Regions from separate parts of the Homo sapiens genome. Here region 1 is linked to region 2. The links are contacts of gene promoters, found by promoter capture Hi-C in human tissues and cell types (Jung and others, 2019). All regions are on one chromosome and are shown on one strand. Each heading gives the region's core, a stretch centred on a gene start or on the middle of the fragment in contact. The rest is flanking DNA. Distances are from core to core; before and after follow the strand shown.

The links. Contacts are between HindIII fragments. The study calls those that stand out against the background at their distance.
Region 1: a fragment that was not itself captured here is called in contact with the fragment with the promoter of SPACA1 in region 2 in 2 of the 25 tissues and cell types used here (hippocampus and stomach).

The regions. Positions count from the first base shown.
Region 1 is chr6:88,079,037-88,083,101 of GRCh38, forward strand. No RefSeq gene overlaps it. Among named protein-coding and RNA genes, the nearest start is that of SPACA1, 33 kb to the left of the region's middle. The HindIII fragment of the contact is 4,615 bases long and covers 1-4,029 here.
Region 2 is chr6:88,045,704-88,049,589 of GRCh38, forward strand. SPACA1 (sperm acrosome associated 1) reads left to right here and starts at 2,138. Exons shown (of 7, transcript NM_030960.3): 1 at 2,138-2,410. The coding sequence starts at 2,203. The HindIII fragment of the contact is 21,921 bases long and covers 1-3,886 here.

The sequences.
Region 1 (4,065 bases), core at 472-2,971, 33 kb after region 2:
TCTTAATGAAATCATACAGCCAACTGTACTCCTAGGTTGAAAATTGGGGGAGACCTAACAGAAGCCATGCTGTAGCATCTTAATGCAAATGGAGTAATATCTCTTGGTTACTCCAGAAGTCTGAAGGTCATAACTCTAGATGCTATATTGCTATAGATAAATTTCAGACCAATATGATGACTCTGTCAACTATCAGAAAAGCTATAATGAGCAGTGCGAAGTAGCCAGGGGAGTGGGGTAAAGGTGGGACAATATCGGAAGAAAAAGAAAGAACAGAATCCATGGGAATAGTCAGGGGGCTGTGACCTTGTGTAAAAGACTGAATCAGGGTGCAAAACCCTACAGAGAAAGGCTAGGGAGTTTGTGAAAGAAGTCATGTAAATACAAGGAAATGACCTTCTCAACAAGGGAAATGGAAACAAGGAACATGAGAAAATAACTTACTACAGATGGCCAAGAAGTCACTTACATCACTATTAAACACAGCCACACTGAATGAAATTGGCAGAACCCAGCTCGAAGCTCATTACATAAAGAAGCTCATTTCGTGAAGAAACATGAGTTACAGAGATAATTGCTTAATAACTTACAGGCTTCTGGCAAAATGGAGGTGTCAGATGGGGCTGGGTTACAAAAGTTTTTTAGGTGGAAATTTTAAAGGACCATGGCTTTAGGTGGTTCTCATGTCACTGAGGAAACACCAGTGGGTCCCCACTGTGTCAATGGGAGTATACAAAGCCTCTCACTGCATGACTAAAGATAGGTTAAAGTGTGTCAGTGTTTTCACTAGGAAAAAAAAGTAGGTGCCTTTATGCTATTAAATTGCATATTACCTTATTAATTAATTCCATAATAATGTTAGAAATTTGATATTATTCTGGTCCAAGGGAGCTCCATGGAAATTTTCTTTCCAGAAAGGAGGATATTGAAAGAAATACAGCCACAATTATTTTGTTAAATATGAGAGACAGGAACAACTGGTTTTTGTTTTGTCAATAGAGATGATAACACATGTGATAATGTCAACAATATATTATCTATGTCTCATTCAATAGGGTGCTTTGCCCAAGATTAGACCTCCTATATTTTTTGATAGAATTGGGGTAAGGGTCTGAAACTTCTATTAGAGGTAGAGATATGATATGAATTCTACTTTAAGATAAAATTGTCTTTTTTTGTATATTGGGAAAACATCTATTTTAGCTCTCTGGTTAAGCAAAGATGAAGCAAAAATAATTTTTTTAAGTGGTAGGGGTGATGGGCTCTACAGTTCAGTCACAAGTTTGTCTCCTTGTGAGAGGAATCATATCCCAGCAGAAGCTGCTCTGAGCCTGGGAGTGAGAGGAAGCCTTTGAGGAGTTGAGGGCTTGGGCTGGGGAGTGGAGACAAGGCCAGGCTGGCAATGGCCCCTGGGAAGAAGGCCATGACCTAAGGAGGGAGACAGTAACATGGGACTCTGCTAGGCATGGGGACCTTGAGCACATTTAAGCTTTCTACCAATTTTATAAGTTTTCTATGCTTTAATTCCCTTTTGCAATTCTTAAGCCAAGAGTAAGATTTGGTTTAATACAGTTGTCTGGTCTTAGCTGTGTTTTGGAGAATTGGGAGACAGATCTGTGCCCACACTTGGGGAAAAGGGTGAGAGGAAGGGAGCAACAGTGTGAGGAGGCACAGGGGTCATCAAAGGGCCAGAAGGTGACAGAGTACAGCCAGACAGGAGTGTGGAACTTGCAAGCAGTCCTCCTAGGTTCATTGAAACACAGAGGGGTAAGCGACAACTGTGTTAATAACTTGACAAAAAAAAAATCCCAAAACTTTTGCCCCTCTGTACACATTTTTACACATCAATATCAGGTCCAGTGGTCAAGTAAATAAATATTAATAATTATTTGCTCCTGCTGAGTAGTTCACACAAAGTCTTGAGATAGCTCCTCTCCCATCCCTTTTCCTTATTCTGCTCTGTACAAACCAAGGGACTCATCAGGCATTGGCCGGAGTCAGACTGCCATCTGTAGCCTGGAGCATCTTCACCTCTGGTTGAACAGACACTTGGAAGGTTGAGACCTCTGAAGCAAGGTTACCTCTTTACCCCAACCCCTAATCAAATATGTCGCCTCTGCCATTTCTTCAACATTCTAGAGGGTAATCAGAGATTTATAGCTCAGAGAAGGAAGCATGGGAAAGTGTTATAACTTTAAAGACTCAACACCTCTTTTAGTAGTCATGGCCCTTTTTGGGAACCTGTGGTAAACTTTGTAAAAGATAAAGCCTTCTTGGTGAGCTGATTCTTGGGAAGTTTTATTGGCTAGGTGGCATCTTTCATGCAATATTCTAGTTCAAGGGCAACTCCAGAATGGAAAATGTAAAATAATTGTTAGCCAAAAATGTCACTATATTTCACTGGCCTCCCCAGCTCATCAGTCCATGTACCAGAAGGGACCTTAAGAGGGGGACTTTCTGATGCTATCCAGGTCAGGACTTTGTTCTCTAAGATAATCTGTGGTTTATATAATCATAGATAGGTTCCTTACTGTGCTATGGAGAAATTTGTTACCTAAGTTTTACCCACCAGTAATAAGTTTCTCCAAAGCACAGAAAGGAATCCATTCTAAGCCACTCTTCTTTAGAAAGCAGCAAGCAGAAGCTTATTTTTAACCAGTTAGTTGGGATCAGCTGAAGGAACAAGAGTATGACAGGAAGAATATTATGCAAGTATCAGATAATCCACTACATTTAAGGTTAAAAAAAAAACCCTTACATTGGGTAAGGAGGCAATCTCAAAAGTTTTTTAATAAAAATTTACTTTCTATTTTATTGTTGCTACTGCTGCTGCTTTTTAGCATTTCCTATTTTATTTTGATAATAGAAAATAAGAGGTTTCTGAAACTTATTAACAATTATCAATAGAAATGATGTGGGATTTGAGGTTAGAGAGATGTAAAAATGTACTGTGTCTCTGCCACCTATTTTGTGTGTGACTGTGAGGAAATTATGTACAGTCTAGGGCTTCTCTTTCATTTTCTGTAATCATATCTACCTCATTGGGTTTCGGGAGAGGTAATAAAGAATCCAAATATACAGCACCTGAAATGCTGTCTGGTACATATTAGACACGATAAATGGCCATTTTTATTATTATGACTATTGAAATAGTTTTTTAACTGTTGCAGCACAAGCCCTTCACACTCAAAAAATTAGAACAGCAGAAACATAACATAATGAAGGCTTGGAACTAAATTTGCCCATTATAGCAACTTTTAAGTATCAATTTAGTTTGCAAAGTTTAAGATTTCCTGAAGAATACCAAAATTCCCAAGACATACAAATATAGTTTGGCTGTGTCCCCACCCAAATCTCATCTTGAATTGTAGTTCCCATAATTCCCATGTGTTGTGGGAGGGACCCGGTGGGAGATAAATGAATCATGGGGGCAGTTTCCTCCATACTGTTCTTGTGGTAGTGAATAAGTCTCACAAGATCTGATGGTTTTACACAGGGTTTCCCCTTTCAGTTGGCTCTCATTCTGTCTTGTCTGCTGCCATGCAAGATGTGCCTTTCACCTTCCACCATCATTGTGAGGCCTCCCTAGCCACGTGGAACTGTGAGTCCATTAAACCTCTTTTTTTAATAAATTGCCCAGTCTCAGGTGTGTCTTTATCAGCAGCATGAAAACAGACTAATACAGTAACTTTCTACTACAGAAAATTGAGTAAGAGGATGGCAGTCCCTGATGGCCAGGAGCAGACCTGGCATTTGCAGCTAGACCGTGGTGTCCTCCTGTTGAACATAAATAATTTAATAGAAAACCATTTTCAGGTACAAAAACAACCTTGTCCATACCACAAAAAATGATCAAACATCTCCACATTATGTATAATATGTGTAATTGCTGATTCTCTACAAATCGCAACTTTAGTTATGCTTCATTCTTCTCACCTTTTAGACAGGAATTACTAGGGTACCCAGTCACAAAACTATTGCTACTTCCTAATAGCATTCAATCCAAAGAAAAGTCCCACTTCCTTAAAACCTCCCCAAATTCTTGAATATACTCTTTTTCCTTTA
Region 2 (3,886 bases), core at 888-3,387:
ACATTCATTTCTCTTTTCATTTTTATGGTAATCCTTTATTTAGGCCTTGATTATCTTGTGCTTATATCACACATACACAAATTGGTCTTCCTTTTCAGAATACAAATTGGTCTTCAAGGGTAGGTAGTGCAGAGACTGGATAGAGGAATGATTTTCCCACATACCAAATGAGGCCAAGCAAGGTAAGGTCAGACCAAGATAGGTGAGCTATGTTTGGGCAGAGTGGGGCAGAGGAGTTTGGGCTCTAATCCCCACCTCTTGGAAATTGGAGATGGGGGTGGAGATGCTTAGTTCCAGGCAGGATGAGGTGGGTCAGAGGAGCATATCAGGGATCCAGGGTGGAATTCCTGCTCCTTAGTATCTGCAGGTTAGAGTAGGGTCAGTCCCTCTAGATTCTGTGCCCTGCCCTTCTGGCTAAACACTTATCTTTCATTTATTTGTGGCTAGAGAGAGTACTAGAGAGACAGTAAAAGTTTGTTGAGGACAGATATTATACTTTTTCTTATAACTTACATGCGTGACATGGTATTTTATAGGTGATTTATAATGCTGCTATTAGAGATATTAATAGTCTTTATTTCAGAGTTAAATCTTTCAGGTCCTCTTTGAGACCCATCTGGCTCCCTTTGGAGATGATTATTTGTTAGATTATTAATGTTTCCTTGAGTCAAATTACATATTTTAGAGTTTATGGGACTTCCTCTGCTAAAAAAGGATACTATCTTCAGGAAGCAATGGATCCTAAAATTGACTTTGAAACACTCAACAATTTGCCAGCAACAATACTATATATCATCTTTTTAAAGTTTGTGTTTGACGGCATAATTTTTGACTTATTTCTCTCAGGATTCAAAAAAGAAAAATTTTGACTCATTTAGCCATGAAACAAAGGCCTTTACTTCTCAAGATCAAATCTAAGTTTTCCATGTTAACGTCCCTCATAATCTTGTCAAGCGCTATATTTTAAGGTATTTTAATTGACATAAATGTTCCCGAGACTTCTCACCAATACCAATTTGAACTTTAACACTGAAGGTGTTTAGCAGTCCTTGTATTTTCAAAATTAGAAGCCTTTGCAGGAGAAAATATTCAAATACAAAATTTCAACTTCTGCTTCAAACAACCTATTTTGTTACAAATAAGTGTTTCTGAAGAACCTCTTAATACTTTTCTGTTACCCCCCTTATCTGTTAGTCTGCTGAGACTAGATATTCAAATATTCCAAAAGCCAGAGTGTATGCAAGTTCACTTTCATCTCACTTGTCATAGGAATTTAAACATTAAGCCTCAAAGTATGGCACCCTATATGTCTTTTCAAAAACAACAACAAACAACCACATTGTGACTACTAGATGAGGTAAAATTTGTAATAACAGAATCAAAAAAGTCAACCCTAACTTTTCAGCGCTTGAACTCCCAATCACCCCCACTAAAGGCTTCTTCGTTAACCTTGAATCATAAGAATCACTGATCATCGAGTAAGTAAGTGTTCGGGAGATATGACTGTGAGATCCAGCTTTGTAAATAATTTCTGGATTTTTGGGGCGAGTCATTTCATCTCTCTGATTCTTAATCTCTTCACTTAAAAATGAGGGACTTGGAGTATCAGATGATTTCTAAATTTCTTCTTACTCAAAGTCTATTATTCTGATCCCAAAGAAGAAATCGAATCCTTCTCAATACATCCCAAATTGGATATTCTGGATAAGAAATTTTGAAACCAAGTCACACGAAGAGTATGTGAGGGATAAGAAGTCTAGTTTGGGGAAGGGTAAACATTATGTACGAAAAAGAAATGTCTTAAAAGAAAGCAGGCAGGGTGAGCGAGGAGGCTGAAGAGTCGCTCCATAAACTGAGGCAGAAGGAGCAGCCGACAGCAACGCCTACCGCACCCGGAAGGCTCAAGGAGGCGCCCTGGGCAGGGAACTTCCGGTTGCGGGGAAGGGCGGCGTCCTCTCCTAGGGACTTGTCGCACGCGGCTTCTCGTCGCGTTCCGTCTTGCACGCCTCGCAGCCTAGCTCCGCGCGAGTTCCAGGCGCTCAGCACCGGAGCAGCGCCCCGGCAACCATTGAGGCGTCACGGTTCGTCACGGGATTCGGAGCCGGGCGGCTACGGGCGGGGTGTCGCAGCTCTCTTCGACGTACCTGTCCTCAGGAGCCGCGGCGGCGACTGCGCCTCGGACGGCCGTCGGGGCCGAGAACCATGAGCCCCAGGGGCACGGGCTGCTCCGCCGGGCTGCTGATGACTGTCGGCTGGCTGCTTCTGGCGGGCCTCCAGTCCGCGCGCGGGACCAACGTCACCGCTGCCGTCCAGGATGCCGGCCTGGCCCACGAAGGCGAGGGCGAGGAGGAGACCGAAAACAACGACAGCGAGACCGCGGAGAACTACGCTCCGCCTGAAACCGAGGATGGTGAGGGCGGGAGCTCCCTTGCGGGGCACGCGGAGGCCCCTGTTGACGGAGCAAAGGCCTGCTCTTTGCCTGAGAACCATAATTATGTGTGTTAACGTCAGGAGAGCTCTCTCTCATACTTCAGCCCCGAGTTTGTCCCTTTCTTGCATCCTGTGGCCTTGAAGAAGAATGTGCTCATTCTCCCAGGCCACAGCAAGATACACAGATAAGCACGTATATAGAAATTGCTATAGAAACACTTCTAAATATTGCTTTGGACAAGGAAAAAGATTTTTTTTCAGGGTGGGAGGTAGCCTTCCAACAAGAGGAATCATTTTGACTCCTCTTGCAGTCACTTTCCCTTCTCATAGTAGATTTTTTTTTTCAAGTTCCAAGTTGCTTGATTTCCACATTTGCACTTGGGGTTGCAATGGAATTCAGAATCCCCCTTTACGACGATACACCCAGATAGACCAGTATGCCGACAAAACTGCCCAGAAGCCCCATGGCAGCTTCCTGCAGCTCCTAGCCTTGAGCACCTCTGCATTGTGGTGTTTGATTGGTATGTGCGGCCTCGGACAAAGGAATGGAGCAGTAGAAAACACCTGTCAAGGGATCCAGCTAGTGGCTTTGTTAGATGCTACATATTAACCAAGGAACAATGAGCCCCCCGCTTGGTACATACATTTGCTTTTTTTTCTGCTGGCTCATTAAGCAATAAAACTTGACAGGCTGTTGTACATGTCATATTGATTAGTAACTCACATTCTAGCAGGTAGAAGGTCAGCAGCAGGTTTGCTGCCTTCTCAAGAAAGATTATTCCTTTCCCTTCTAAATGACCCAGCTGCAATTCTTTTAATATTGTTTGCATTCTCATATCTCTTCAGTCTATACATATCGAGTGACTGCTGTGTCTACCAGCCTTTCTTTCATTTCCTGATAGTGATCCTCAGCACCAACAGAAAGAAATGAACTGTCTGAGGTTAACAGTGGGATCGAGGTTTGCACGGCCTTGTAACATTATACTACAGAGAGCTTAAAAAGATCCTTGACTTCGGAAATGTGAAAAAGAAAGATGACTAGGAAAGAAGAGAACACGTCCTAAAGCATAGTAGCTATTGCTTCATTCTCTTCTTTAAAGTAATTGAATTAACAATTTTAGTATTAAACTGGCCAAGAAATACTTCTAGCTATAAAATGCTAAATATTATTTAGGCTAAACTCAGGCAATAAAGTTATAATGTCTTACCTTCAAATTAAAATGTAGGTTAGTTACTTATTCTCTGAGTCACAGTTTCCTCATCTACGGACTTCAAGGAATCCATGTACTTTGTGGGATTTTAATACATACTATTTCATGCATAAGTGCTTTTTCTTGGGGAGCGAGAGAATCCAAAACTTTAAACAATCTGAGGTGTTATAGGTCTGAAAATTTCCAGAACCATTATTGAAATTTGCACTGTCCCCTTAACCCTCAGTGGATCAGTAGAAACAGTT